5 separate regions of the Homo sapiens genome follow, and regions 2, 3, 4 and 5 are each linked to region 1. The links are contacts of gene promoters, found by promoter capture Hi-C in blood cells and fetal thymus (Javierre and others, 2016). All regions are on one chromosome and are shown on one strand. The core of a region is centred on a gene start or on the middle of the fragment in contact, and the rest is flanking DNA. Distances in the headings are between cores, read along the strand shown. Region 1 holds the start of ARLN (allregulin). Region 2 overlaps SYNPO2 (synaptopodin 2). Region 3 overlaps SYNPO2 (synaptopodin 2). Region 4 overlaps SYNPO2 (synaptopodin 2). Region 5 overlaps SYNPO2 (synaptopodin 2).

The links. Contacts are between HindIII fragments. The CHiCAGO score rates a contact against its expected background, and 5 or more counts as called.
Region 2: a fragment that was not itself captured here is called in contact with the fragment with the promoter of ARLN in region 1 in 1 of 17 cell types (monocytes); the score reaches 5.3 in monocytes.
Region 3: a fragment that was not itself captured here is called in contact with the fragment with the promoter of ARLN in region 1 in 1 of 17 cell types (M0 macrophages); the score reaches 8.1 in M0 macrophages.
Region 4: a fragment that was not itself captured here is called in contact with the fragment with the promoter of ARLN in region 1 in 5 of 17 cell types (M0 macrophages, M1 macrophages, monocytes and 2 more); the score reaches 9.4 in M0 macrophages.
Region 5: a contact is called between a fragment that was not itself captured here and the fragment with the promoter of ARLN in region 1, in 13 of 17 cell types (naive CD4 T cells, total CD4 T cells, monocytes and 10 more). The highest score is 10.4, in naive CD4 T cells.

Annotation. Positions count from the first base shown.
Region 1 is chr4:119,298,150-119,304,508 of GRCh38, reverse strand. It overlaps ARLN (allregulin), which reads left to right and starts at 3,864. Exons shown (of 2, transcript NM_001001701.4): 1 at 3,864-4,173; 2 at 5,730-6,359. The coding sequence starts at 3,974. The coding sequence ends at 5,730. RefSeq lists enhancers at 3,891-4,120, 4,221-4,270. The HindIII fragment of the contact is 14,870 bases long and covers 1-6,359 here.
Region 2 is chr4:118,947,255-118,953,613 of GRCh38, reverse strand. The region is part of intron 1 of SYNPO2 (synaptopodin 2); the gene reads right to left. Among named protein-coding and RNA genes, the nearest start is that of SYNPO2-AS1, 34 kb to the left of the region's middle. The HindIII fragment of the contact is 914 bases long and covers 3,659-4,572 here.
Region 3 is chr4:118,963,830-118,970,188 of GRCh38, reverse strand. All of the region lies in intron 1 of SYNPO2 (synaptopodin 2), which reads right to left. The region is part of intron 2 of SYNPO2-AS1 (SYNPO2 antisense RNA 1); the gene reads left to right. Among named protein-coding and RNA genes, the nearest start is that of SYNPO2-AS1, 18 kb to the left of the region's middle. RefSeq lists an enhancer at 2,073-2,122. The HindIII fragment of the contact is 5,041 bases long and covers 53-5,093 here.
Region 4 is chr4:118,983,690-118,990,048 of GRCh38, reverse strand. The region is part of intron 1 of SYNPO2 (synaptopodin 2); the gene reads right to left. It overlaps SYNPO2-AS1 (SYNPO2 antisense RNA 1), which reads left to right and starts at 5,330. Exons shown (of 3, transcript XR_939120.3): 1 at 5,330-5,416. The HindIII fragment of the contact is 4,207 bases long and covers 687-4,893 here.
Region 5 is chr4:119,038,819-119,045,177 of GRCh38, reverse strand. The region is part of intron 4 of SYNPO2 (synaptopodin 2); the gene reads right to left. Among named protein-coding and RNA genes, the nearest start is that of SYNPO2-AS1, 57 kb to the right of the region's middle. The HindIII fragment of the contact is 4,059 bases long and covers 390-4,448 here.

The DNA.
Region 1 (6,359 bases), core at 2,615-5,114:
GTGCCAGACAATATCAAGAAAATTTCAGTGTTTTTTGAGTCAGAGGTAGGGAAATTTTGAAAGATGACCAGTCTAATAAATAGCCCCATTAATAGGAGACCATTACAGAATGTAGAGGGAAATAATAGGTGCCAAAGGAAGGCAAAAAACTATGGAAACAAATACTTCATTCACTGCCTTGATCTTGAGAAAATAACCCTCTCCCCAAGAAGAAAACATGACATAGAAGGTGGAGACAAGTTAAATGTGAAGTTTTCACAATTGGTATGTTAGAAATACCAAGAATGGAGAGATCAATGTGAATTGTAGTGAAGGAAATTTTATGAAGTTGGCACTTAAGTGGGGCCCTGAAGGATGAGTAGGATTTGGACAGGTGAGAAAGCATTCCAGTTTAACAGGAAAAACATGCACCAAAGCCCAGAGGCCAAGAGAATAGTTTCCATGAGGAAGATGGAAGAAAGCACTCTGACTGGAGCAAAGAATGTTTCCTGGGTACCAGGTTGGCTGAGTAGAGTAGAGCCAGATTAATAGTGGGTATAAAGGTGGGAACTGCTAAGGCCAAGATGAAGATAAAAGAGAAGCTGCAACCTAGTTATGATGATAGTACAACTCTTTCTTTGTTAGAGCATGGAGGGAACATGGTCTGGCTCTGTCATCAAGGCTGAAGTGCAGTGGCACAATAACAGTTCACTGCAGCCTCGACCTCAAGTGATCCTCCCAATTCAGCCTCCTGAGTAGCTAGGACTACAGGTGTGTGCCACCACACTTAGCTAACTTTTCTATTTTTTGTAGAGATGGGATTTCGCCATGTTGCTCAGGCTTGTCTCGAACACCTAGGCTCAAGCAATCCACCCACCTTGGCCTCCCGAAGTGCTGGGATTACAGGTGTGAACAACAGCGCCCAGCAGATAGTACAACTCTTAAACAAAGAAAACTATTGAAGATATACAAAGGAGTAAGAATGAAAGAGAACAGCCTGGGTGCAGTGGCTCATGCCTGCAATCCCAGCACTTTGGCAGGCCGAGGCGGGCGGATCACCTGAGGTCAGGAGTTCAAGACCAGCCTGGCCAACATGGCGAAACTCTGTCTCTACTAAAAATACAAAAATTAGCCAGGCGTGCTGGCAGACGCCTGAAATCCCAGCTACTCAGGAGGCTGAGGCAGGGAGAATCGCTTGACCCCATGAGGTGGAGGTTGCAGTGAGCCAAGATCGCACCATTGCACTCCAGCCTGGGCGACAGAGCAAGACTCCGTCTCCAAAAAAAAAAAAAAAAAAAGAATTGAAGAGAACAATAACAACAAAATGAATAAATAAAATGACCCAGAAGATGGAGAAATAACCTGTGGTACCAATCAACAGGGTTGTTGCTAGGACAGGTACTCAACTTGAAAAGGAGGAAAAGACAAAGTTAAGATGAGAAAGAATAATTTAAGATAAACACATATATTTCCAGATGAAAATTACAGTAACCAAATTCTCCACTGTTGGAGAGGTTATTCTATAAAATTAATTTAATTCCTAGGATGATCATGAGGATGCTTTATCACATGGATATACTGGCTTGAGAGCTGCATACGAAAAATTTGCATTATCCCTTAGGTTAAAGCAAAATTCATCATCATCTCCCTCCTGAAAACTTATTGCACTTGAAGTTCAGAAGATCTGTAACGTCTTCTTAAAAACACTTAGCTGTCTTTGGCCTGATGGTTATAGCATTTTCATACACCACCTTCTCCACCCCAGCTCAATCAGATTAATTGTGCTGACAGAATTATGGAAGTGTTGGATCATGGTTGCAGTGCAATGATTCAATCTGTAGTCCCTGGTGCATATTTTTCAGTTGAACATGTGAAGTAGAAAGTTCAAGGTGGTTGGACAAGTGCCGAGGTATTGCATGACTGACAGTGAACCTGGATTTCAGTACAGTACTTTTTAAAATTTAAATTGCTTTGATAATGGCAAATGCCAACTGAGCAAGGTGGCTCATGCCTGTAATCCCAGTACTTTGGGAAGTCGAGGCAGAAGGATCACTTGAGGCCAGTAGTTCAAAATCAGCCATAACACACTCTAAACTCATTTCTGTAATGTGGAATAATCAACAATCAGTGGGACTTTTACAAGGGTAAAGTCGGAAATAGAATCTTTCAACTGAATTTAGTTTAAATAACCCCTCCTTATTTGCACTAGTTGCTCTTCCAAGTCTGGCAGACGTTCCTGACTCTAGAACAGATCATACTGTCAACATCCCCTCATGATGAGCATGTGACTCTGGGCCAAAGACAAGTTTAAAACCATTTCAAGACCTGTTCAGTTTATGTCATGCTTCTTCAACACTAATAATCTCAATAATTTTTTATCAATCCTACTTCAATAACTAGGAGTAATTGATCCTACCTTGTCAGCGAGAAGAATGCTTCCATCTCTGGTAGAGGCAATTGTTTATTTGCCTTTCCTAATTTTTGTAAAGATTCAATGCCACTTAAGCCCAGGGTCTTTTTGTCTACTACCATCAGACAATCTGTATTACAGCACACAATCTAATTAATTCTCAGGTAATGGCCCTCTCATCCCAGAATCTACAAAGCATTTTTCTTGAAAGGTCGTATACTATCTTTGTCTCTAAAACCTGGCAATTGATTTGGAGGCAAATTGGAGCAAGGTTAGGAAGCTATGGAACAGCTTTAAGAGTGCTGGATTTGGAGTTAATTTTAGGCTTTATAATTTTTTTAGTAACCTTAGACAATTCACTCCTTTTGTGTCTCATTTCCTAATTCTATAAGATGGAGTACTGCCCCTTCAAAGAGGTTTTACGACGATTTAATGACTTTGTAAAAACACAACTACAGTCTTATCTCCATTTACTATGCACCAAGAGAACCACTTATATGTCTGGGTGCCCGTTATTTTCTGAACAATTCAGGAATCATAATGTGACAAGAAAGAGAATATTTGAAATTGGACCCACGAGGTAAAATCCAGGCAGTATAGGTCATTTTCTTCCTGCTAGCATTCTGTTCTTGCTGAGGCTCACACTCAAAGTCAAATAACCTTTGGGTTATTCTTCCCACCCCCATTTCCCCCCAGATGGAGTCTCGCTCTGTTGCCCAGGCTGGAGTGCAATAGTGGCACGATCTCAGCTCACTGCAACCTCCGCCTCCCGGGTTCAAGCGATTCTCCTGCCTCAGCCTCCCGAGTAACTGGGATTACAGGCGCCTGCCACCACGCCCGGCTAATTTTTGGATTTTTTTTTTTTTTTTTTTTTTTTTAGTAGAGACGGGATTTCAGCATGTTGGCCAGGCTGGTCTCGAACTCCTTACCTCAGGTGATCCGCCCGCCTCGGCCTCTCAAAGTGCTGGGATTACAGGGGGGCGCGGCCAGGTTATTCTTAAACCCACTCCCTTGAAGTACCTGCAAAATGCTCACGTGCTGCTCTCTGGCCCGTTTGGAAACTCAGTCCCGTGAGTAGGACGTCCACCTCATTGGTGGTGTTTAAATATTAAGTGTCAAATGCTAGAGACAGTACAAAACCCACCAGAGGGGGCCTTCCTAACACGTTGGCATAAGGATCCAAACGGAATACGGGGATAGGAGAGGTGACCTCGTGCAGTTTCAGGGAGGAGTCCATCACCTGACTGGACTGGGCCTTTCAGGGGGACGAGAACGTATTTCTTCCAACGAAACCTGAATAACCAGCTATCTGCCTGGGACGCCGCGAGGCAGAAGTAGGCGGGCCCATTGACTTAGTGTCAAGGCGGAGGCCGCGCTTCATGCCAGCGGTCACGGAGGCAGCGGAAAGCCGAGCCAGGCGCCTGCGCGCTGGGAAGAGTAGGTTCAGAGTGCATTCCGGAACCCGGGGCGCGGCGCACTGCGCAGGCGGCCGGACTCCGCTCAGTTTCCGGTGCGGCGAACACCAAAGTCCGGGAACTTAAGCATTTTCGGTTTCTAGGGTTGTTACGAAGCTGCAGGAGCGAGATGGAGGTGGACGCACCGGGTGTTGATGGTCGAGATGGTCTCCGGGAGCGGCGAGGCTTTAGCGAGGGAGGGAGGCAGAACTTCGATGTGAGGCCTCAGTCTGGGGCAAATGGGCTTCCCAAACACTCCTACTGGTTGGACCTCTGGCTTTTCATCCTTTTCGATGTGGTGGTGTTTCTCTTTGTGTATTTTTTGCCATGGTGAGTATCTCGAATGCAAAATTGGGGTGGTAAGGAGCTTAGAGATCATTTGCTCGCTTTTGGGCGGGGAGGGGACTGAATTCCAGAGAGTTTATATATGTCCAAGATCACACAGCTGGTGAGTGGCGCAGTCGGGTGGGTGGGGGAGAAGGACTAGGAGTAAAATGTCCTTCTTTAGCACGTCCGTGGGAGTCTCCAAAGAAGTGTGGAGAAAACTTGGCGTCATATTTTCTCATGATTTGGAATGAAACCAGCTAGGCTTGAGTTCCTGCAGCACCATGAAGCGACCGGAGAAGTTATTTCGCCTTTTGGAGCTTTATTTTTTCATCTGCCATTTGGGACCATTAGTAACCCAGGTCATAGGGGTGTAGTGAAGATTGAGATCGTAGTGATTTGCATGTTGCCTGGCAGTAGTAAGTGCTCAACGAAAGCTATTTTTACTATACAGCTGTTTAACCATGAGCAGACCACGCAGCTGTCTCAAACTAAACATGTCCAAAACTGAACTCTTAACAGCTTCTTACCCAAATTTACTTGCCTTGCAGCGTTACCATTTCAGTAAACGCCAACTTTATCCACCGTTACCTCCCAGAAACCTGAGACACTTTGCCCTTTTCTTACACACATCCACATATCCTAAAACACCAAGTTACAAAATTCTGTAGAGTTTACTTGTAAAACCCATGCTCTCCATTTTCATCGCCACTCGCTCTGAAAAGACAATTCTGGCAGAGGGTAAAGGAAGGGAACTTAAGAGAATAGGGCAGGAGGAAGCAGACACCAAATGGAGATGGTGTTAAGAGACAAGCTAAGGAGAAGCAGTGAGATGAAACAGGGCTCCTATGGGAGAAGAGCAGTGTAGCCCATCTAGACAGCTCTCCTGGACTTTGGAGTTGATTGTTCACTCACTGTTAACTCCTTAGTCACCATGCCTATGAGTTACTTCTGAAATTCTCACTTCTTGATAGGCAGTCACTTCTTCTACACCCCCAACCCCCATCCTATATTTTCACCAAGATTTGGGTGTCTTAAGCCTCACTGTCTCATTTCTTGGATGGTGTAGTAAGTTAGAGAAGACAGAGAGGGCCAGGCACAGTGGCTCACGCCTGTAGTCCCAGCTACTTGGGAAGCTGAAATAGGAGGATTGCTTGAGCTGGGGAGGTCGAGGCTTCAGTGAGCTGTGAACGTGCCACTATACTCCAGTCTGGGAGACAAAGCAAACCCTGTCTCAAAAAAAGGGGTGGCAGGGGAGCGAGAGGGATTAATGGGAGGATGGCAAAAGGGATAGGGATTTCTATAAAATTCTCTGTCAAGCCATTTGTAAAGGGAGAGTTTTACTCTCCCTCCCTGTTTTGGTAGAGACTGATAATCTCAAATACAGTGGGTTTTGTGTGTGTGTGTGTTTTTATGACCTGAACTTTCAGCTCTGGATAGAAAATAGAGGCCTTACAAGAAATGTTCTAGGCTTTTCTTTTTATCAATATGTAAATAGGCATAAAGTGTTAAAAACTGGGAAGATAAAGCACATATTGCTGACAAATACTTGCTTTTTACAGACTTGTTCGCTGATATCTAAATTAAGAAGTTGGTTCTTGAGTGAATTCTGAAAATGGCTACAAACTTCTTGAATAAAGAAGACAGGACTCTCAATAGAAGAATTTCACATCTCCAAGGGACCCTTCCTTTCATTTTACACTTTGTTACTAATTTGCAGAACTCTATTAATTGGGTAGGATTTCACCCATTCCTAGCTAAGTTCTTAAAATTAAACCCTTTGGTTCGTGTTTAAAAACTTTCAAACATCTGATGGCTTTACAGGGGCTGAATATAAAAGCATTTGTACTTAAAGGTCTTGTGTATTCATTAAGAAATATAGTAATGTCTTTTAATGTTTTAAGAGTTGATCAGGGTTTACTATGATGCAAGTAATAGGATGATTAATAAGGGAAGGTTTTTATGAATTCAAAAGTCAATTATTCAAAAGCAGGGAAAGATTTTGAGAGAGGGAACAAAGTATTCTTAGATTGCGTAGAAGCTGCTAGGTTCCAGTTTTAATTTTTAGGTTTAGTTGGACTCTGTTATGAAAAGATAGGTTATGGGTGGGCGACAGGTTGATACAGTCTTAGAAAAAGCAGGTAATATCAAAGTATTGGAAAGCTAGCATGCATGCCCTCTTACCTGGGTAT
Region 2 (6,359 bases), core at 2,866-5,365, 350 kb after region 1:
TCAAAAAAAAAAAGGCTACAGTTCAAGGAAGATTGAGTCCTCCAGAGTCTCTCCTTTTCTTGGCTGAAGTTGATAATACCTCTGCCACTCATTTCTGAGAACCCTATACCATTAGTCATTAACTCATTCAAATAGCCAATGGATGTGTAATGAGCACCTGTCCTATCCCCCGCACTGGGCAATGGGGGATACAGTGATACGACTAAGTCATCACTGCCCTGCTCAGGGGTTAGAATCTGACACAAACTTCAACAAAGAATTTACAATTGTGATGAATCCTACGAAGGGAGACGTTCAGGGTATAAAAAAACCATGAAAACAATGGTGTGCTCATTAAAAGCGTCAAATTAGAATCAATGCAGGAAAACTTGTGTTATTGTTCTCTAAGCTCTCAACATCGTTTGGATAAATCAACCAAACAACGTGAAGATGACCAACGTGTTTAAACTCATACTGAGCCTTTAAAAAAGGGCTGTCTTCCTGTCCCTTATATACTTCAATCAAGTGAAGTTCCAAGGTCACTTCTGTTAGTTACATTGAGGGAACTATAATCTTGTTTTCTTTCTTTTCACATAAAATTCTCCTACAGAAAGGCAGAAAGACATATTTAAAGGAAAGAATTTGCAGGATTCAGGGTTAGAATCCTGACTCCACTACTCTGATTCTGTATAATTTTTTAAAAATTATCTCTCTGACCTTCAGTTTTCTCCTTTAGAAAATTGGTATCATAATAATTCCTTCCGAGGTTGTTATACTATTAGAAATAAAGTTTTGTAAAGCACCAGCACACTGTCTGATGCATAAAGCTCTTAATAAACAATATATATTGGTATCATTGCTGAGAGAGCAAATCCTCATTTTTGAACAAATGTGCTAAATTGTTCTATCTAGAATGATGAATGAAGTACCTACTATCCAATGTGATTAACTAAAATACCAACAATAACAATTGAAATAGTAAAATATAATATTCATGTTTGCAGTTTGGTATTACATTATTTCTGATATTTTTACCAATTTTACCTGTCTTACTAGAATGAAATTTGAGAATTGTATATAAAATTAATTAGAGTTAATTCAAAATACATAATTACAAGTAACTTGAATTCATACAGAACATCTGCTTTTCTTGTGAATTAAAAAGTTTACACATGGCACATATATACATATGTAACAAACCTGCACATTGTGCACATGTACCCTAAAACTTAAAGTATAATAATAATAAAATAAAATTTTAAAAAAAGTTTACTCTTAGATATGGAAAAAAATAAAAAAGAAGTGATTTTACTAAATTTCATTATCAGAAGAAGGAACAATCCTCTATGTGGTAAATGAAGTCTTGATTAATTTAACTATCTCTTTCCATTGAAAATACCTATTGCTGTGGATAGACAGATTGCATACATCGTCTGTAATTGATCTTCACAATAATCTTCAAAGTAGTGCAAGGGGATTTCCAGTCCCTGCTTGTAATTATTCCAGAGCTGGGAGGTTGGGGACTCATGCACTTCTCTCATAACCCTTCACTCACTCTTCAAGACAGAGGATAATTGTCTTGCCTGATTGTTGAGACTAACAGAAGGGACTGAGAAAGCCTAGCTCAGGTCAGTCCCTTTTAAGACTCCTTACTTGGGTTGTATTCTCAGCTATATTTGGAAGAGTGGGCCCTCTCCTTTGCCTGAGACTGGAAGGAGAAGTTTAATTCTGGGATGAAATATTAAAAAGTTCATTGTGGTTGCACATCTTAGCCACATTCTCAAATTCAGCTTTAGCTTCTTAAAAAAGTTTATATTTTAATCTTCAACTATTTCCTACGTTTTTCAAATTATTTCTAGCCTCCAGAGTGGTATTACAACATGAATTTTATTATGAAAAATTCACGTTTGGAAAGGTAACATGCTAGTACTAAATACCTGGGTTAGATTTTCAGCCATGGCCTATATTACTATAAAATTTAGATTTTTTTGATACAATGTTGTATTCATTTTGTTGAGCAGTAAAAATAACAACTACAACAATAACAAAACTCTTCATACTTTTTGAAACTACAGATTTTTGCCCTTGGGTCCCAACAAACTTGCTGTTTCTTCATGTACTGGCATTGTCTGGTGCTATAGTCTGAATGTCCTCCAAAATTCATGTGTCAAAACTTAATTGCCAGTGTGATTGTATTAAGAGGTGGGGCCTTTAGGCAGTGACTAAGTCATGAGGACAGAGCTCTCATGAATGGGATAAGTGACCTTATATAAGGGCTAGAGGGGACCAGTTCTCCCTTTCCATCCCATATGAGGACACAGCATTCTCCCCCTCCAGAGGATGCAGCAACAAGGCAGCATCTTGGAAGCAGAGAAGGGGCCCTCCCCAGACAGATACCTGCTGGCACCTTGATCTTGGACTTCATAGCCTCCAGAACCGTGGTATTTTTAGCAGCACAGACAAACTAAGATCTGTGGTAATAGAAAGTATCTAAACTCCCATCAGTTACACACTGTCTGTATAGACCAAGCACACAGAGAAATAAGACAGGAGATATAAATAGCAAGACCACAATGTCAATAAAATCCTGCCTCCATCTGCCTCCTCCCAACAAGTTTCACCATTTAGGATAGGTAATTTCTCTTGACTTATGTATACAATGGCATGAAGACTTCAATATCTTTACACTGGTTGTGTAGAAATGGACCAGATTTCATTGCACCCAGTTATATTTCTTCATGACATTTGGATAGCTTTCTCCTTTTTCACAACCAATCGAGTTTATGGATCTGAATTTCTGAGACTCAACCTTTTATTAACTATAAAACCCTGTTTTAACAATATTATTTTCTGTATTCTTATGCTCTGGCATGTGGGACCTCACTAACCAAGGAGAGACTGGCCTTCCAAGGCTTAGGTGATTCCTAGAGATAGTCCACTTGCCTGTGAGCACATTTTCATAAGTAAGCCAACCAACCCTGAGTCCACATTCCCACTGCCTCCTCTACCTGGCTCTGACACTCCAAGAAGCAATATTCCTCTGTCCTAGTCACCCTAGCACCAGGTACCAGACAGTTGGGGACCATTCTTATAACCCAGAACCTGCCAAAATTATTTAAATTATCAAATCCTAAGCCTATTCAGCTACTCCCCTTGCTTGGCGCATTCCTTCCTGTAGAAACCACAATACAGGCTCTTGCCCATGCCTTCTGCTCTCTGCTTCTGCTTCTGACTGACCCTGGTGTTTCCCTGGGCTGTCCTGTGTGGCCCTACCCTTGGGAACTGTGAGTAGCAAACTATCTTTTCAATGGTAATTATCTCCTGATCTGTTGGCCTCGCTATAACTGAACAAAATAAAATCCCAGATACATTTTAAAACAAACCTATATCCTTGCAAAAGATTATATGCAACCATTGGTATTTAAATATACTTGCCTTTTGTGGGTGTTATACACTAAAACTTATTACAAATTAATGAAATGATGATTTTCTAAAATTCTTTAGAAAAATAGTATTATTGAGAATGGAATGTGGCAGTTTTCTATTGTGATTTCTTTTAACAGAATGTCATCTTTTTCAAACTTGGTTAAATGCATCTGACAATTATTTAACGTGAAAGCAATTTAAAGCTAAAGCTACCTAGTGGCCTCATAGCTTCAAATGGAATTTTTTGTAAGCTTCATAAAGACAGTAACTTTCATTATAAATCATTTTGAAAATAGAGTTGAAACAAAAATCAAGTAAAACTAATTATATTTGTGATTTGTATTCTGAAAAAAAAGTGCAGGGTAATGACGATCGACTTGATAGCATGTGTAGAAGCCCCTAGTTCAGTGATTGACATGTAATAGAATATTTCATTTTATTTTATTTTATTTTATTTTTTGAGACAGAGTCTTGCTCTGTCGCCCAGGCTGGAGTGCAGTGGCTTGATCTGGGCTCACTGCAACCTCCACTTCCTGGGTTCAAGCGACTCTCCTGCCTCAGCCTCCCGAGTAGCTGGGATTATAGGCATGTGTCATTACACCCAGCTAATTTTTGTTTTTTTTTTTTTTTAGTAGAGACAGGTTTCACCATGTTGGCCAGGCTGGTCTCGAACTCCTGACCTCAAGTGATCTGCCCATCTGGGCTTCCCAAATTGCTGGGATTATAGGAGTGAACCACCACACTTGGCTGTAACATAATTTAAAGATGCTATTTTTCTCTACCAATACCTGCAAGAGCATTCAACTAGATTTGCATTTTGGAAGGAAGTTGGACTACCAAAAGCCATAGCAGCAATTTCATAGGGTTAGGGTAGTGTTTTTCAACTTTTTTTCATTATTACTTCCTAGGGAGTCTTTTTAGACTTTTGTTTTTCTAATAATCTCCTGCCACCACCCCACCATGAAATGCAAATGCTTCGGATCTGCCGTATAACTGTTTATCTATTGTGGCTCTCTAGAGGTCCACGAACCATTGTCATTCCTACAATTTTTTCACCACCACCACATCAACTTTCATGCTCCTGGGGGGACATATCACTCCCATTGACAAAGCATCCTTAGGCTTGCCAAAGGTTCTTGGCTACACATTAGAACTACCTGGAAAGCTTTTAAATTCCAAGGCCCTACTCAGAGATTTTTATTTGTCTGCAAGGAAACCCAGGCTTTCTTATTCTAAAACCCTCCAGTGGGTAGATTAAGGAAGATCCTTCACCACTGAGCACAGAGGAGCAACTCTAACTGCAGTGAATGCTTTAAGCCCATGCAAGTTAACTAAGTATATAATTGGGGTATTTGTCCCCTCCAAATCTCATATTGAAATTTAATCCCCAACTGGAGGTGGGGCCTAGTGGGAGGTGTCTGGATCATGGGAACGAATCACTCATGAATGTCTTGGTGCCTTCCCCACAGTCATGAGTCAGTTCTTGCTCTATTAGTTCACATAAGAGCTGGTTGTTTAAAAGAGTGTGACACCTCTTTCCTCTCTCTTTTTCCTTCGCAATTGATGCCTGCTCCCCTTCCCCTTCCACCGTGTTTGAAAGCTTCCTGAGGTCCTCACCAGAAGCAGATGCTGGTGCCACACTTCCTGTACAGCCTGCAGAACTGTGAGCCAAATAAAAACTCTTTTCTTTATAAATTATCCAGCCTCAGGTATTCCTTTATAGCAACATAAAAGAAAGACACCAAATAAAATGAAATGCTGGGTTTGGAATTTACCTTCATTAAGTAACGTAAATTGATAGGCATTGATTCTTTCACACTACAATAAAAACTTGTGTATTTATATGGATTCCCCATGTAGACTCAGAAAATGGTTGTTGAGTGTCTGCTTCTTTTCTTCCTTAAGAAAATGGACATTTTAGTCCTACTGCTGAGTTTTACCCTGTACTTGGTTAATTGGTTCTTCATTCTGTTCCTATGAACCAAAATGTTAACAAATCGGATCTTATTAGTGCAATCAACTAATTAAAATTTTTCATCTTTTGAAAACCACTATTGGAAATATGAAATCAGACAGAGCGCAACACCAAACATTTTGAACCTCTAGTTACAAAAATTCTAGAGAGGGAAAAAAGTGTTTTTTTTATTCTTTTACTTACTAACTAACCAAATTAACTAACCAAAAAAGTTTCCTTTTGGACCATTATGGACATTTAATATGATTTCTGCTTTCCTGGAAATATCAAACATTAATCAGATCCCCAAAACTAAAGTGGCATTAAGCAATGAGAGTCATTTGGACAATACTAATGGTATCCAGTCTACTCATTATTATTTAAGTCATGTCAATTTTGAGCTACATTGTCCTAAAAGTTAATATGTAGGCATATATTACTTATATGTACATACACATATTATATAGACACAAACACACACACACAGTGCTATGAAAGCATATGCCAGAATTAAACTGCCACATTTTCTTAAGTTGTTCTCATTGTTGATTTAATTTTACATATGGTTCGAAACAGCCTTTTAACAAGAGAATCAATTCTAAAGCAGAAGTGTGATGATTACTTCTCCTGGGCTAGGTTTTATTAATATTATACCAATTCTGCCCCGACAGGGAGAGGAAGAGGGCTGAAGATGACAGAGGTTAAACAGCAGAGTTCAAGGAAATAAACTTATTGCAGGTGGCTTTAATCAAACTTAAGAGGACTGGAACTGAAGGTCATTCTCCTCCTCTGCACTTCAAGAGGAAATACTGCTTGAAATAAGGCTCAGGCTGTTGACATGAACATACTTAGAAAATAATATTGTATGGGAATCCAGGCATAGAAACAAAGTGCTGTGTCCCATTTGCTATATAGCTTAAGGGAAAGGCTGTGCCACATTACGTGTCTCATTGCCCATAAAAGGTAGTATTACTCTGCTCACAACCTATTGTTCGAATAT
Region 3 (6,359 bases), core at 1,324-3,823, 330 kb after region 1:
AAATCTGTTGATAATTTATAATTCAGGAATAAAACAGCTTTCAGATAAAGCTTTTGCTAGGTGGAAAGTGAGTACAAATTACAAGTACATTTCCAAGAAGGCTCATATATGTCGATTATTAATTTTTGCTATCATTATTAAACAGAAGTCCTAGACAATGAACAGAAATTTTACCTAATGCTGTTAATTAATAATAGAAAAATATAATTGAAACAATGAAAGTGCTCAATATTTTCCTTATGCTAATCATCTAATAGTTAAATGCAAACAATAGAACATTCCCATAATGAAATTCTATTACACTTCAGTCTACTTTTTAAAGAGGCCAGGTTCTCATCTCAAATCATTTTTGTTGGCATTTCTACTAATTTTTCATGTTTTAAACAATAACTGATATTTTACCAAAAAAAAAAAAAACCTTGTAATCAACTTCCAAAATAACAGCTATTTTCATATATTAGTGACCTTATAGAAAGAACGCCCAGAACTTAATAAAACCCCAGAAGACTTTAGAAAGTCCTGGTTCACAGGAACACAGTGCTTCTTTGGTTTCAGGCCATTGGCTACCTCATTGTTGGGATTTTCCAAGTCAGATAGTATTACACTTGGAATATGCCAGTGAACATTAATAATCATGACCATAAATGAAAAGTTGGCCTTCTCCAATGGGATATAAAAGACTGGCGCTCCACACCTCCTCAGAGCAGCAGAGGGCAGTGAAAGCACTGGTAATGGATAATATAAACCCAGTATTACCATCGGGAGAGAAACGTACTTTTTTACAAATACATTTTCCATTTTAAACGAACACCATGCATGTAAGAGTTTGGAAATATATTTTTAGTCTCTAATGCAGTTTTGGAGCCATATACAACTTTTACAAAGTGCAATGTAATTTCTATGTAGCATTTCTGGGACTTAGAGTTCAATTTAATATATCAGAAAAATGTTTTAGGGAGTAACACTACCTTGTAAACTTGGTCCAAAACTTAGCTGTACAGTGTAGGATATCATAAAACAGTGGTAACCCACCAGAGACAGAGTGTTGTGTTTATGTGAGTATACAATTTAGGAGCTGCAAGGGCCCCTTGAGGTTAACTAATGATTCGTGTCCCTCCTTTTAACTGACCTGGAAAGACTCCTGGACTTGCTCAACTACATAGAGGCTAAGACAGTGGTCTCCTCACTCCTCTCGTTCTGTGGATTTTCTCGTTCTGTTTTGTTTTCGTTTTTGTTTTGCCACGCTATATTTCATAATACTTAGCAGTTAGATTTATAATCTCTGACGTTTTAGTCAGGGTTCAAAGGCCAAGGAATTTCCACCTGGAAAATGCAGGAGGGCTCAAAAATCAGTCTGAGCTTGCTTCTGCAAAAATTTGTTTTTAACTTTGAAAAGAGAGGCCTCCACAAGGGAGTTATGCCATTCATTTGAAATTTTAAAAATTGCTCTACCCATTGCAAGTCAGTATATACTTAAAGTTCTTTAAAAAGAAAAAAGACCCATCACTCCTCCACCAGGGACTCCCAGAAGACACTGCTCTTTTAACCTCTGCAAACCCACACAAATCCAGTCCCCTTTCCTTCTTAGATTGCCCCATCACTGTATCATGGTCAGAAATTTTACTAAATGGCAAGGCAAATGCCTATGGGTGCTTTCTTAGCTGTGACCTTTCGAAGTCTGGGCTCTAATTTAGAAAATCTGTCACTCACTTTTCCTACTGAGTTGGGAGAGTGGACTGGAGCTCAGGAGTGGCTGAGAAAATGGTTAAATGGTTAATGGTGAAACAGTAACCTCTGGGAGAAAAGACATCTCTGTGGAGCCAGGACATTGCTGTAACAGTTACATTCAAACATTTCGTCTCCAGACTTTGTTGATTTGCCTGGAGCCCATGAGGTCTGATTGGCATTAGCAAGTGCAAGGGCCTCCAGTGACATTCTCCTGACCCTGCAGCAACTTCCTTCTTTCAAGAACACACACTAAGCCTCAGGCCAGGACCTCTTGCTTTCATTTTCACTAACTGGCTTCTCAGCCTGCTCTCTTTGTTCTACATCTTGTGGTTTTTCAGCAAGTCAAGGGCCAGGCTGAAATCCCAGAGCAAATTCTTCCAAGGCCAAACAAGGAAATGCTCAGCAAGTCTTTGGAAACCAATAACCAAGAGCACTAAGCTATGTTATTTGAAAGTTAATACATTGAATGTCACATATTTTTTCACCATAGTTAGACATTTTATAGAATAGCTGTATGTCTTCATTATATGACATTCTCTAATAAAGTTTAAAGTTGCATGGATAGGTCCATGTTTTAAGTTGACTTTTTTTTTTTTTTTTGGTATAAAGATTTTTCAAATCAAGAAGAATTAAAAAGCCAAATCAAGGAAAACACCTTCTGGAGAGAATCTGGTGTTACAAACTTTAGTTAAATGCTGTATATCTTATGATTTCTTAAGGAGATGACTCATACCAAAGGGAATCATCCAAGACATGCCAAAAGCATAGGGGAAAACATGGAACCTTTTTGTCCAGAAACTATCAGGGATTGTGCTATACCCGTTTCCCCAAGTGAGGCAAATGGTTCTCTGGAAATTACCATGAATGGGGCTTCCCCACTGCACTTTTAGTTGAGTTGGCCAAAGAAGCTGCAGAGCATCAGGCCAAGGACCAAGAGGAGCTGTGGTTTTTGTGTGATGAAATGTGCTACCATCCAGCAAGGATTAGGCTCTGAGCACAACCTGCTAGTTTGGAAACCTGAAGCCAGGATTTTCAGAACGCTGGCTCTTAAGCATAACCCAAACAACAAAGAGAAGTTGTTTGTTGGAAAACTCAGTCTCAGGGAATGTCAGAGCTAAAAGGTCAATTGTAGAGTTATCAGGTGGCTCGACGAAAATCATATTTACGTGGTTCCTCCGCAGACTTTTATTTCCTATAGGGAGACAGAGGTAGAGGAAAGAAAGAAGAGGGTGGGAGAGAAAAAAGAAAATGGGCAGTATAGAGTGGGAGCTAAAATGGGCTTGAAATTAACTCAGTAGCTGAGTTCAACCACTGAAACCTTTGTTTTCTGAAATATTAGAAGGGAATAATAGTACACTCCTGTGTTATAAGGTTGTTATAAGAATTCATAGAATTAATCTTTGTAAACTATTTAGTGCCTGTCTGGAACATATCCATTATGCTCAATAATGGTTAACTATTATTACTGTCATTTTAAGTAACTGGATAAAGAGGAAAAAGATGTACTTACTGTGAGGTACAGTTCCTTAAAAACTACCATGTTATTAACTAATCATTCAGAGCTTTGTAAGGAAGGACCTGCTGACCTGCTCTTCAAGTACATGAGTAGATTCAGATACTTTAAAAACTTCATCAATCTGTTCAACCTACATTAGTAAAATCTATACAATCTGGGACAAACTAGGCCACCATTTGTTCAGGTAATACCCAATACAGGAGGAACTAGGGGAGGGGGGTCTTTCACTTGCCAAGCCCTGTAAAACAGTAGCTTTGGGTTATATCATCCCAGAAGTATGTGTGTGTATATATATGTTATATATATGATACATAGCTATATAATTTAAATTTTTATAAATGCTTCATATGAACTAGCAGCAGCCCTGGGGTCCAATCCTAAATCCCACAGCAATTTAGGATCTTGACCAAACCTTCTGCCATACCCTAGCTTTCCTTCTTCAGGCAAGATTATATAGAAGAAGTCCTCCCTTGGGGTTTACAAGGGTAAGTGGGGGAGCTGTGCTCCAGGGTTTCTGGGAAAGACAAACCAACTCAAACAAGCCTATTCTATCTATCGTCTCTACCCAGAAGCTAAAATGGGGAGGCAGACTGCCTTTTCTTTCTCCCTAGAGAGCTCATACCTCAATTCTGCTTTAAAGGTATTGCTTGAGCATTGAGGTATAGGAGCCAGAGGGAGCGATGATGAATGCCTTCTCAAATAAACCACTTTTTCTATTTCCCGTTTCTTTCTATCCACTCAAATGAATGGTTGAGAATTTTGCTGCCAACTTTTGCCCGTGAGTCCCTCCGATCCACCTAGATTAATCCTGGTTGTCCTATCAGACTTAGCTTTCCATAATCCACAATAGTCTCCCATCCCAGAATGAGGTATGGGCTTATTTATTTATTTAGACAGGGTCTCACCGTGTCACCCAGGCTGGAGTGCAGTGGTGCAATTATGGCTCACAGCAACTTCAACCTCCTGGGCTCAAGCAATCCTCCCACCTCAGTCTCCATCCAGCTAATTTTTTTTAAAAAAAATCTTGTAGTGACAGGGCCTCATATTTTGCCCAGTCGGGTCTTGAACTCCTGGGCTCAAGTGATCCTCCCGTCTCAGCCTCCCAAAGTGCTGAGATTACAGATGTGAGCCACCATACCCAGCCCCCTCTACTTTTTGATATCATCTTGTACGTACTTCCCAGAATGTAAATCCATGAGGACAGGACCTGTGCCATCTTGTACACGGTTTTATTTCCAGCACCGATAATAGTGCCTGATACATAGCAGACATCCAGTAAATATTGTCAAATGACTGAATAAATGAATCATAGTGCAAGTAAAGAAGGAGAAAAAACAATACTGTGTAACCATAATTGCCTTCTATGGAGGCTAGACAGTAGATCCTGGAACATAAAAGTCTCCTTGCCCAAGCACCAAGATGGATTTAGGTATGAAAAAAGTGGGCCTGGATTTGAATTTGGGGGATGCATGAAAAGAACAGAATTACTCTGTACAACAGACAGCAAGAGCATCCTGGAGCTGGAGCTTGAAGGAGGGTAGAATGCAGTGCAGGAGGGATGATGTGAGGAGTAGAACCGGGAGATGGATGAGAAGATTGGCAGGCATATGGCTGCTGTGTGGGGTAAAGCAGACAGTGAGAAGGCCCTGGTTGGGGTGGGGGGGTGCTGGCAAATGGACTCATAACAGGAATGTGCCCTCTGTCATTTGAAGTTTATTGCTGTGCTCTCCCATGACCCAAAAACTCTCAGTTCAAGTTTTTGCAATATATTATCAGCTTGGTTTTTATGATTGCTTTGTGTGTGGTGTAGGGGAGGGAGAATAGATGAGAAAGAGTTGTTTCCCAAGCTTGAGTTTATGCCAAGACAGAGATAAAGGAACAGCTACAAGATGCACAGTACATTAGAAAGCAGGAAGTCAGGGCAGAGCTGACTGTGAATGCAACAGAAATCTTGGGAGCAGCCTTTGGGCTTCGAAAGGACATGAAATGGAAGCTTTGTGCTGATTCCAGTCAGATCTCAACGAGCCAGGAGGTCCCAGCTAACACCTGGGACACACTATGTATTCCACATAAAGGTTAATTTTCTTGTCTTTTTTTCAGTCCTTTGGACTGAGTTTCTTGATAGCAGGGGTTTTCTTGTTTGTAAGAACATCTACATCTCCAGCACAATGTCTAACAGACAGTAGTTACTATTTATTGAATAAATAAATGAATGGCTTTACCGTAAACTTTCTTCCTTGGAAACCACCTAAGATTAATGAGAAAAAAAATCAAATCAAAGAGTGGGAGGGAAGAAGAGAGAGAAAGATGGAGATACAGGTGGAAGTAGAGAGGCAGAGTGAGAGGGAGAGAGAAATAGTATGTCACCCTAATAAATAAAACCTGATGGTTTTCTCAGATAACATTTTTTCCATATCTCTCAGTTTTTAATTGTTTTTTTTTTTAATTTACTTTTGAGACAGGCTCTCACTCTGTCACCCAGGCTGGAGTGCAGTGGTGCAATCTCAGCTCACTGCAGCCTCTACCTCCCAGGCTTAAGCAATCCTCCCACCTCAGCCTCCCAAGTAGCTGGGACCACAGGCACAAACTACCACACCTGGCTAGTGTGTGTGTGTGTGTGTGTGTGTGTGTGTGTGTGTGTGTGTGTTGTGTGTGTTTTGTAGAGACAGGGTTTTGCCTGTTGCCCAGGCTGGTCTCAAACTCCTAAGCTCAAGTAATCTGCCCGCCTCAACCTCCCAAAGTGCTGGGATTGCAGGCATGAGCCACCACACACAGCCACATCTCTTATTTTGAAAAATCTATTATTTATCTTTATCCCCCAAAACTTCCTTGGCACCTGCTCCATATGCTAGAATTAGGTTAAATGGAGTGAAAAGCCTGGTGGATAATCTTGACGGGTGGTCCCCCTCATGCAAAACCCATGTACGTCCTAATAGGATGCAATCCCATCTCAGTGAGAGCCATGCATCACCTGGCCAGTATTTGATTAGAAGGTTGATTGATTGATTGATTGCATTTCGAGGACAGACTGTATCCAGGACAGCTGTGGCCTCCATGCTACTATGAGTTTGCCTAGAGGCAATGGTTAAATATGAGTAACAAGTCTCCTAGGCCT
Region 4 (6,359 bases), core at 1,541-4,040, 310 kb after region 1:
ATATGGGATTATGCTTGATGTTTTAATGTATCTGTTTACAAATATGTCTCACCTTTAGGGGCAGAGGCCATGTATATTCATCTCTGTATTCATGAAAGATTTAACATCTGAATTAGAGAGTACATGAATGAGTGAAGTGGATCGGTCTACTGATGGACGGGGGTCTTTGCAGCCTCAGGGCTTACTCTCAGGGACTCTTGGTGTTGTCTCCTTGGAGAGCTTCTGTCTGTGTCCCTGCGTGAACACAAGTTAGGCCTCCTCCACCAAGTCCCTAACTCTTAGTACATCCACTTATTTCTTCTGTCTGTGCCACAAGATTCCCAGTTACTGTGTGCATTTGGCTTATGTTTGCTTCACAGGATATTTCTATCATGATGAATCAATGATATTCCATGGAAGCATGACTATATGACACATTCCTTTATTACTCAGAACACAAACTGTTTTTTTACTTGCAGCTGAAGTCACTGCTAGCACTGACTGTCAGTCAATAAAACGAGTCCGTGACTCTGTCAGATTCTTTTGGGAAATCAAAAATAGCATGCTCTCTGTCTTCAGATGCCCTCAGGCTTGCTAGGGAGATATGATCACACATGAAACAATTAGAGAATGGTGCAAACAAGTTCAGAATCATATGCCAATTTGAGTCACAGTTTCAGGCTCTGACTCTCACTCAGTCTTAAGCTTGCCAAAGCCTTAGCTATTCCCAGTTACACTCCAGAAACCTCTTCACATGCTGTTTACTCCCCCAGAAGATGAACACCTCCTCTCAAGCTATGGGCACAACATCCCACAGGCATAATCATGAGCCAGGGCCTGATGCTTTCAAATGTATTCAGGGTCTTCTGGCAAGGGCAGCAGGCTAAAGCAGCTGAGTGCAGCCGGAACCAAGCTCAGATGCTTTCCCAAGTCAACTGCCCTGTGTTTAAACATTAAAGTATGCAGTTAAGATCCCTAGTTCCAGGCCTTTAAATTCAATTTCCAAAGCCTAGCTCTGGCCTAATTCAATGACTCTTGTTTTATGTGTGACCACCTTGTTCTTTTTTTGTTGTTTTAACTGAGGAAGGGAACTGTAAGACCTGCTTGGTCACCATAAGTACCAGTTGAGTGTTCTTCCAGAGAAGTTTTCATCAAAGTTGAGCCTTCTGTCAAGATGTGGAGACCCTCAAGTCTGAAGCGATTCGATGACTTTGGGGTGGGGGAAGGTGCATGTTTCCTGTGGAGGCTCCTTGGCCACCAACCTTCGCAGAGATGCCGGCACTGTGCTTGGGCAAAGCCAAGTGTGAGGCTCCTGTAGCTCTCACAGCTGTGCTTACAGAGAAAAGGGCACACAGGATGTCTGGACCTGAAACTCCTCATCATAATGTCAATTGAATTCCTCCCAAAATGAAAGCTGTGGCCATTTATTAATAAAAATAAAAGCCCACATTTTCACAAATGTTTTTCAGAATAACTCGTAGGTAAAGAAACTCCTTGGAGCTTTTCTAAAGGAAATGCTGGATGTACTTTCCAAAACTTCAGTTGGAAACTAAACAGAATCCAAATGTCCTGTCTTGTAGTTGAAAGCAAGTACCATTTTTAGAGTTAGGTTTTGCTCAACCTGCTGTATAAGGTTGTGTTAGGAACCTCTGCTTTTAGGGAAGTTTCCTGCTGTTCCCTGGGGCAGAACTGTTTCATTTCACATTTATTTGCTTCTCCATTAACACCTTTTTCCCATCCCCAGGAAAAAAAAAAAACACTAAATTATTGGTTTTCATAAAAACATGACAGTGTACAATATTAAAACCTAAAAACCAAACCAAAATAGAACAAATACAACAAGCTACACAGGTGTACATTCACATAAATTAATGTTAGAAGTACTGGCAAATAATAGTTTATGCAATATTTGCTCTAGCTATTCAAATAAACAGGACTAAAATAACTTTCCTGCTCATGAAATCAAGTGTGAAAATTGAGGCAGTACATGTGCAGATTAGCAAAAACATGTTGTTATGTTTGAATTTGAGCTCAAATTCTCCCAACCAATAGCTCTGTGGCTTTGGGAAAAATAATGATAATTTTAATATTTATTGAGAATTATTACCTGCCAGACTCTGAACTAAAGTACTTCACATGGTACAGAATATTTCTGAGTCCCTTTCCTTTTCTGTAAGGTTATAATGATTATACACATCTTATATGTTATGAAGAATATATAAAAGGTATGTTAAAGACCTAGACATAGAGTAGGTGATTATAAAAATGGATGTTTTAAAAACAAAAATGGAGCAGAGTAATAACACTGCTAATATACTTAAATAGCAATACAATTCTCATTCTACTTTCAGATGCATCAGTACTAAGTGAAGAAAATAATCTAGAAGCAGTAATTCGAGTTCACATTAGGCTTTTTTTTTTTTTTTCATGTGGGCTGCAGTGCAGAGGTATGATCTTTCCTCACTGCAGCCTCAACCTCCAGGGCTCAAGTGATCCTCCCAAATAGCCTCCCAAATATCTGGGACCACAGGCACTCACCACCACACCCAGGGAACTTTGTTTTATTTTTTGTCGATCAGCCTGTGTTGCCCATGCTGATCTCAAACTTCTGGGCTCAAGCAATCCTCCTGCCTCAGCCTTCCAAAGTGCTGGGATTTAGAGGCGTGAGCCACCATGCCTGGCCCATATTAGGCATTTTAATAAGTGAAGAGAGTAAAATTAAGAATAACTAATGCAACATTATCTGCATCAAAGTGAAATTCTAAAGAATGAAAAGCATCAAATTTCTCCTTGATGTTCCTTAGCTGGGACATTCGATGTTATGAGATAAAATAAATTTCACTGTAGTCTTAGAAGAAAGTTATTAGACTAGTTCTTCTTTTATTCTACCTTTATTAACTTGTTCTGTAAATTTGAGGAGTCAATTAACATTTTCCTGTGTCCATTTAGATATCTAAAAATAACTCATTAGAGGTTTTATTTATTTGCAGTTTCACCAAGAACAATGATAAGGATAATGGGATTTAAAGAAAACTTTGACTTAGCATAATTCAGCAAAACTGTGTTGGTTTATTGAGTGAGACATATAACACATTTGCAGTGCCTATGAATGGACAATGGTGATCCACTAGAATTTTCTGTTCCATTTTGTGATGTCTATAGGGAAGTTGTTGGAGGCTTTAGGGGCCATATCAATAGCACACTGAATAACAGTCTATTTCCTGGTTCCTCTGACCCAGCCAGGGCATTTATTTAATGGTGAAATGAGATGGAAAAAGGAAGAGTATGTACATCATGCATCCTGAAATAGAGGATGGAACAATGTGGAAGTAAAATTATTAGCTAAAATCCCTCTCAGAAAAGGTCTATGCTCCCTGCGGCCAGTCGTGGTTTGGACTAGTTTAAAATACAGCTGGGTAGTCTAAATCATAGACTAAATCCTAGACTAGATATAGTGGAAATGGCCACATGTGCCTATTATCATCTCTCAAACTTGGGATGGGCCAGTGATGTTCTCATAGATACCTTTGGTATCACCAATGCCAATTGAGATGAAGGTCGAGTTTCGGGGCTACTTTGAAAACCACATGAAATTTGGTTTGTAGTACTCTGAGTGACCTAACCCAAAGAACATTCTTGGCATAGAAATTCAAGTTTGAATTGGCATTTTTAAACATGTCGGACTTATTTTACTATCTCTGGCTCATAAAAGAGTAAGTTGGCAGAAAAAAGCAAGTCTTAACTGGATTACTGAGTTGTACATTCATGGTTACAGTTTCCACTGTGACTATTAGAAAATAAATGAAAATGTAAGTATAGAAAATGTAGCCTTTTGCAAGAGGGCATCCTATGGGCTGATTACTTTTAGAAAGGTTTGGGGACCATAGGGTGGGTTTAAATATTAATTGTAACCTATAAAAGGATTTAAAATTGTGAGAACAAAGGTCATTTATGCTGGGGGTTGGGGATTTTACATGTATATGGATTGGCAGAGGGGAAGAAGGTTTCTTTCATAGAGTCACATCCTTGTCCACAGAATTTCTAATTTTAATTCAATGGGAGTGCAAGGAAAACCTAACAGAGTGAGAGGTACAACATCAAGCTAAGATTGCTGAAGAGTTGTTCACATCGGAGGGCTAAATAGCTGGCCCCCGTATCCTGCTCCTCTTAACTTCATTAGGGCCTACAGAATAATGTAGTAAATGGTGGTGTTCACATGAAATATAGCCCAGCAACCTGGTGTGACCACAAAGGCAGCCAACTGTGGATGACATGGTACAGAATTAGATCCTCGATCAGGGATACTGTAAGGACACTGAACCAAGTTCTGTGCAGGGCCCAGCCCAGCCAGCAGATGTTAAACAAGACACTTCTAGATGCCTAATTGGCATTGATTAAACACTTGTTAATTGATTGACTTGCTGATTGACACAGTGTCACTGAGAATGCCCAGTTGGATGACAAGGCTTTTGACATTAACTCTATTAATATGTCAGTGGCTTAGGCAAGTCTCAATGTTTTCTTGACACAGGATCCTCCTGTCTACAACACAGAGGATAGTCACTTGCCTACAGCAGTTTTAGGGGAGAAGAGAAGACTGAAAAAAGATGAGATTATTGTTGAAGTCTGAGGCATCCCTCTTCCATCAAAATGTGCCAGCACCAGACAGCTTCCACAGGGAGTCAGAGCTTGACAGCTCAGCTGTCTTCTGAAAGGAGAGACAGACGGCAAATCATGTTCCAGGAGCACGAGGCATAGCCAGGAGCATGAACCCAGCTGAGGAGCAGGGCTGAAGGACTGGCAGAAGCTAAGGAGCACTGAGCAGACAAGCAGGATCAAACCTCAAGGATTATCTGCCTCTACAACCTTCCCCCAAACCCTGCTACATCCTACTAGAGCAGTGGCTCTGAAGCTTCGGTGTACGTAAGGAGCACTTGGGATACGTATTTAATCTACAGATTGCCATATCCTACCCCAGAGACTCTGAACCAGTAGGTTTCTTGGAGCCTGGGAATCTTCACATTAGCAAGTGCTCCAGGTCTAGGACCACACTAGGAGAAGCATTGACCTAAAGGGAACCCATTGAGCTTTGTACTTCTTAATGTCAATGACAAACAATAGTAAATGACAAAAAGATGCCAGTGGGTCTCATATCCAAACAGTTCTAATTTTGGATTTCTCAGTGTCTTGAGGACCAATGACATTCAGAAACACTTCCCAAGTATCCATCATGTGAAATGCATTGAACCAAGCAGTGCAAAATATACAAAGATAAGAACAGTCATGTGCATAAATAACTACAAAACCAGGCTGACTTTGATAGACTCATCAAGTGCTTAGGCCAGGAAACTTACAGAAGGGAAGGAGTAGTTCTAAATGCTGGGATCTGGAAAAGTACTTTGGAATTGGTGCCATCTGAGGTGAAGCTGGAAGGAAGGTAGGACTTCAATTTGGGATGAAGAAAGACACCACTGGCAGAGGGAATGGTTTAAACAAAGGTTTGGAAGCCTGAGAATCCAGAGTGCTGGCCTGTGTCTGGCCTGTGGAGTGTGTCAGAGGGCAGACTGAAAGCAGAGTAAAGGGAAAAGTAGAAGGGTCATTTTAGGGGCTTTGAACGATATGATGAAGTTTGATTTTGTTCCAAAGGCAATGTGTGTAGGATTTTGAGCAGAAGAATAACTGAAGAGGATTTTTTTAATTAAACAGATAATATCTAATGTTTAAACTAAACATTATTATTCTAAATAGCTAATGTATTTATAAGGCACAGCATTTTAAAGGAACAAGATGGTACATAATGTAAATTTTCTCTCTCTTACATCTGCGTCTCCCAGTCACCTATTTTGGAAGCAACTAATGTTACCAGTTTCTTTTGTATGGAAAGGACTGTTTTGGAAAATAGCTAATGGCCAAATATTGGTTGGGCTGGAATGAGGAAGAGGGGATTCATGACAGAGACACCAGTTTGGTGATCTTTTCAGAAGTCTAGGTGATGAAATGAAGGCTGGAAATAGAGTACTCTCAACGCATGTAGAAGGGGGATTCTGAAAAGACATTTCATAATCCTCTGCTCCCCATGTCCAGTCAACTTACAAATGACAAAGGGGAAGTCAAGGATAGTTGAAATTTTGACTTGAGAGTTGAGGAAAGGTAAGGAGGGGAACTCAGTTTGGGACCAGGATATGGGGAGGCTGTGCAGGAAAGATGAGTTCTGTTTTGGAAATGTTTGCCTATGATATAGGACATAGATGTGGAAATGACAAATATCCTGTTGGAAGGGCAGGCACGTAGCTTGTTAGAAATATTACTGAGGAGTTATGAGCAAAGAGGTGGTAGTTAAAGTTGTAGGATTCTATGAGCTCAGTAAAGAACACAGCAGA
Region 5 (6,359 bases), core at 1,170-3,669, 260 kb after region 1:
TATTTGAAGTGGAGCTAATAGCCCTTAAGCAAAATTATTTCCCAATTAAAATGCCTTTTGCTTTTTTAGAGAAAAATCTTATCAGTTATGATGTTAACAACAAGGATTCTTAAGAAATGTGTGCATACCATGTAACAAACTTGATTTGGCCTCTGCACAATAACATTCCCAAAACTTCCCACTGATGTGTTTAGAAGCATCCTCTGTCACGACTTCTAATTACATTAAAAATCTCTGACAATTCAAAGCGAGTTAATGGCAATGACGAAGACACAGCAACTATACAGTGTGTGACAACATAATTTCACAAAGATGTGGAGAATACAGGATGAGGAAAATGACTGAGTTGGCCTTTGTAACTGCTTTTCTGTCCACTATGTTTCTAAGCTTATTAAATGGAACCTTTGATTAATATCCTGGGCCCTGGGGAAATTGTTTAACCTACTGTTCTTTGAGAAATGTAAGATTTACTCCCTATCATATTTATGTTTTCCTGGTCAAAAACATGACCCCAGAGTGAGGTTTAAAATTAGGAATCTTAATCACTTGAACTTGGGAGGTGGAGGTTGCAGTGAGCTGAGATCACGCCACTGCACTCCAGCCTGGGCGACAGAGTGAGACTCCATCTCAAAAATAAAATAAATAAAAATAAAATTAGGAATCATAAATCCAGCTCTTCATCAGGAAAGGCATCAACAGCTTGTTTTCTTAAGCACAGAATAGAAAAAAATTATGCTCAATTCCTTTATCACATCTCTGGTCCAAGTGATAAGTTTTATTTAATGATATCTTTCCTGTTTGAGGGAATTTACACAATAATTTCATGTATGTCATTTCATTTTAGAGACATGGAGATGCCATAAACTATGTGGGATTTTCAAATGTGTGATTGTTTTGCTGGAGGAGAAACATGGGTTAAAGAGAAGTATACAATGATGGTCACGATCATGTGCTTTTCAAATACAAATGGGAAACTTAGGAAACATCTTTTATCAGAAGTATCCCAGTTACATTTCTTCAGAATAAGCAGCATTTACTTCCATTGAAAACACTAATTCCAGATATAGTTGTAGTCTGTCATTAATCACTGAAAGGATGTCTCGGGAGTTATTGGAATGTGTGTCTACTTATCAGACATACGAAATTAGAGATCAAATACTTAATTTTGCCCATGGCTATAGCTGCTATTACAGCTGGTTTTTATTTGCATAGCTTTTTTTTTTTTTTTTTTTTTTTTTTTGAGACGGAGTCTGTCTCTGTCACCCAGGCTGGACTGCAGCAGTACGATATGGGCTCACTGCAACCTCTGCTCCCCAGGTTCAAGTAATTCTCCTGCCTCACCCTGCCGGGTACCTGGGATTACAGGCATGTGCCACCACGCCCAGCTAATTTTTGTGTTTTTAATAGAGGTGGGGTTTCACCATGTCGACCAGGCTGGTCTTAAACTCCTGACCTCAAGTGATCCACCCACCTCAGCTTCCCAAAGTGCTGGGATTACAGGCGTGAGCCACTGCGCCTGGCCGGCATAGCTTTCTTAATGCATTCATGAAGCTGCAATGTATAATTGTCTTGAGATAACATTGTATGTTAATACTACAGCAAATTTTGCCATGTAGACCACACATTTATTAAAAGGATCTCATTCTTTAGTATTCTCCTGACTTCTCCCCATCCCAAAGTTTGCCTTCATTTTGATTTGATGTTAGGTATTTATTGACTATTACAATTGTTAAACAATTTTTTCACTTTTAGTATTAATTCATGCAAATGCATTGATGAATTTACAAAAATATTATGAATTAGCTAAAATACTACATCAGCCCTCTTAACTGCTATGGATATGTAATCTTAGCCTAAGATAAAAAGTAACTTCTGGGGAGACTAAAATGGATAGGCCCTCATCAATACACATTTGAGAGAAAGAGAGGAAAAGAGAGATCCTTTAGTAGTATGTGTGTCTAAATTCTTAAGCAATTATCCAAAACAAAAACAAAAAACAAAACAAAAAAAAACATGGCAGTAAGCCGAGATGGTGCCACTGCACTCTAGCCTGGGCGACAGAGCGAGACTCTGTCTAAAAACAAAACAAAACAAAACAAAAACAAAAGAAAAAAAACAACCAACCAAACAAACAAAATACAATGAACAGATCAGTCATTCATTGACCACATGGCATCAAACCTGTGCAGTGACCTAGGCTCCAGCATTAACCCATCATTTATAATATCCAGCTCTCCCATTAGTCTTTTCTCCTCCCACTGGTAAATGTACAAACATATATTTCACATCACAGAACTTCCAACACGTCACCATCTTTTCTGTTTTAGAAATAAACTTTAGTGCCTCAAAGTTTTGAAAACAATGTGCTTGTTAGGATCAAAGCCGTCACCAAGTGGGTCTGCCTGTTTCTTTGTTCCGTACACTCTTGTAACATATAAGCAGCCTCTGACTGATTTTGCATTTTGTTGACATACTACTCTATTTGCCAAGATTAATGTTAAAGTTAAACAAAAATATTGGGCTCTTTCCCTATGATGCATAAAGTGCATGAACTTCCTTTTTCTTTTGAAAATTTTATAATCGTATTTATTTTCATTTTAAAAAGCTAATAAGCATTCAAAGTGCTTCAAAATTTTCCATTAGCCTAGATCCCAAAATAAGAATGTTTAGATTACTGCCAGATAGATTTAAGCTAGTTATTAGTAAGAATATTTTGGATTTGGAGATAACAGAGTCTAGGGCCCAACAGCCAAGGGAAGTCATACAATCTTTTTCCCCAGAGATAAGAAAAAATAGCCAAGGAAATTCAATCTCTTTTCTAGATAATAAAATTGTATCATTCTATTCTATCCCTAGAAATATTTATACTCATTCTTGATTAGAAGCAGGGGGTCAGATAAAAATCACGTCTCAAGGCCCCCTTTAGTCTTTTGTCTTTTTTAAAAAAAGAATATTCAAAGCAAATTGTAATGCAACGAGCTTTAGAATGGCTGCCTGTGAAGCACTGAGAGGGAAGGAGAGTTTGCTGCCATCTCCTGGACGTTTGAAATAAAATCGGCAAGATGAGTGCTTCAGCGCCTGCCTGTTCCTTTTAGACGGGGCACTAAGACTGTGGAAGCAGGTGCAGTTTACAAGTCTGGCTGTCCCTGACTGGATAAACAGGAAAACTATTTATGGGTTTTAAAGAATAAAGTTGATTTAAGTGGTTTGCATGTTAGAAAAGTGTTATTCAAAGTGTAGTTCACAGCCCATTAGCATCAGAATCACCTGGGTTGTATGTTACAAAAACAAATTCCTAGGTCCCACCCAAACCTAGTAAATCAGAATCTCTAAGGTGGGGCTATCTCTAAGGTGGGGAAATCTTAATTTTACACTAGGAACAAAAAGTGGAAAGCTATATGTTACACTACGAAGGGAATAGTTTGCTCATACTAAAGTGCTGTATATAAAGGAAATCATATTAGTTCATTCAATGTAAAATTAAAATTAAAAGTTCTAAGTAATATATTTAGTGTTGCTGTTTATTTCAGTAATACCACCCACAATGAGTTGTGACATTTCAGTGAGTATTTCATAATGCAGAATTCAAAATCTAGCCCATATTGGACTTACGTGAAGAATTATGATCTGCACCATTTGTTAAACAGTAATAAGTAATCCAACCACAACCAACAGACTCTGAGTGTGAATTAAAAAAAAAACTCCAAACCAAAGATCTAATTGTGGAAGGATTGCAATGAAACCTTAAATTAGTACATTATATTAGTTCAACCAATTCCTTAGAGATTCTTAGCTCTAGAAAATGGTTTTGTGAACATTTCTTTATCAGTGTTAGATATGCTAGGTGAAAAAAGAACAAAGGGGTTTTTAGTACAGTAAGAGGCCTAGTTTTGCTTTATTTTTAAATGTAATTAAATGGCACAAAAGGAAAGCAAGACTAAATCAATTCAATTGCATTTGAAACAAAAGCTATTCTGGATTCAGATAACATTTTCAGAATCTCAGCTTGTTTTGATTTTTTATCTTCAAGATGAGTCTTGACTTCTGCTTCTGACTCAGAAGGATTCTAGAAGTACCAGAAAACCCACAAAAATTCCCTGGGTTTGAAAGGCAGCTGGAATATTAAGTTCCTCCCTATGTCAGTGGCTCAGCTTCTTAGAATTGTTTTTCATCACTTGCCCTGAGCTGGGAGTTTGCTCTGTTCAGGCCGAGGTTTCACTCTTTCTGTTTTTGGAAAGTGATCATGCCTCTCAGGCAAGGGGATCAATTACTCTAAAAAGGCCAGGTTGCTGACCCTTTGTCCTAGGACAGTGTGGAAAGGAGGGATAAGGACAGCTGTGAGCTGCGCCCTCCTAGGTCAGCCCAACTGTTGCAGGTCTGAAGTGGGGTAGTCTCAGGGATAGGGTTGCCAACTGCTCCACTTTCAGTGTAATAGGCCTATTTAAGCTTCAACTATGCTACCAGGTTACTCAGGATACCAACTATCCTGTTTAGAGAATATGTTTGGTTTACAAACATTTCCCCAGAAGAGCTCTCTTCATATTACTAAGTCCACTACATTCATTCTATTTAACATTGGTACTTTGAACTGAAAACAGTGTCTTTATAGTAGAGGCTCAAAGCTGATGTTATTTTATAAAAATATTGAACCAGTCTTTTTGAATCTGATCTCATCTTTGTATACCACGAAAAGAATGCTGGCACAATAGATGAACACAAAGCAGGAAAAAATGGACAAACAGGCTGAATACAGAGGAATGTAAACATATAAACTTCAGTAAGAAGAAAAAAGAGAAGAAACAAAGATCTCTCAACGACTCCTGGGAATAGATTTCTTGTGTCAATGTGAAATTTATAGCGACACTCCTTCTACTTTTCCTATTTTAGTTGTGGGTCTCAAACTGGGATTCATATTAACAGAGAACACAAAAGAACTTGTTTAATTGTGTTTTCCTCATTGGAAGTTTTTAAAATAGTAGCTATTGTTTATTGAGTGCCCCTTAGAAGAATAATAATAGCTAACATGTGTTGAATACTTTCTCTGTGCCAGGCAGTGTTTTATATACAAAATGCATATTGTTTCATTTAATCTTCATAACAACTTGTGAGGTACACCTATTATTGTCTTCGTTTCACAGCTGAGGTATTGAAGCACAGGGCGACTGAATCCTTTGTTTAAAGTCTCCCAACCAGCAGGAGGCAGGCCTGGGACTCAGAGGCAGGCAGCGCGGCCCTAGAGCCCACACTCTTAATCACTACCAATGTACTTCTTGTGGGCTCAAGGTTTACACACCTTATCTCATCTAATAGTATGTGAAGTTCATTTAAGACATGATTACCTTTTGCTTTTCCTAAATTAAAAAAAAGTCTTGTCTTCTTTTTAATTTAAAAATTGGAAGGAACCTTATTCTCTGCATTATTGTTACTGAAATTTGAGGGTTTCTCTCATCACTATTCTGTTCTTCCTTTATTTGCCAGGTATAAATTACCATAACTCTGGTAATATGTGATGCTGGTTGGCTGGAAGCGGTAGGTGTTTGAGGCGTGTGGTCTAGTGCACTGTGGGAATTTGTTCAACAGAAACCAGCAAAATGTTGAGCTTCCCTTCGCCATTATTGAGTTGTAATAAGCAAATAGGCTGATGGAGATAAAAACTACAGCTTTTCCCCATGCACCCTGTTTAAAAATGTCTATTGCTTGGAGCTACCAAACTCTAAGATGTTGCACTATTTCTTATTTTGATTTAGAAGGTTTAGTGTAACTTTGGAGTTATCTCTGAGACATGTAAAACTCATCACTTCTGATGAGCAGTTCCTTTTACCTGTGACCTGAGTCTTCTTGCAATCAGGGGAGGTAGTATAGCCTTGTGATTAGATGATGGCCATAGAGTTTGACTGTTGGGTCCCGAGGCTTAGCCCTACCATGTTACACAAGTTCCTTAAGTTTTCTTTACCTCAATTTTCTCATCTTAAAGTGGGATGATAATAGTACCTACATCATACTTTCATCATTTTGTGGTGACCAAAAAAGTGCTTAGAGTGGTACCTAGCACATCTTAAGCCCCCATAATTGTTACCTTATTAGTGGTTCTATGATTTTAAATTAAGTCAATAAAGCTCTGCAAATGTAATGAGTTTTTACAATTAACCTAGAAGCTCACATCTTCTTTTTTTGAAGTTGGTGATGGGACTGTTCCAAACCCATGTTTAGAATCTATCACACTAGTTCCTCAGGAGATGTTTTCAAAATAACAATGATATATAAAAGGAAAAAAAAAAAACCACTGGAAAAAATGTAAGGTTTAAAAGTGTCCTTGCTGGGAAGCCTTTGACAGAAATAATTGTTGAGAAATCTTCCAC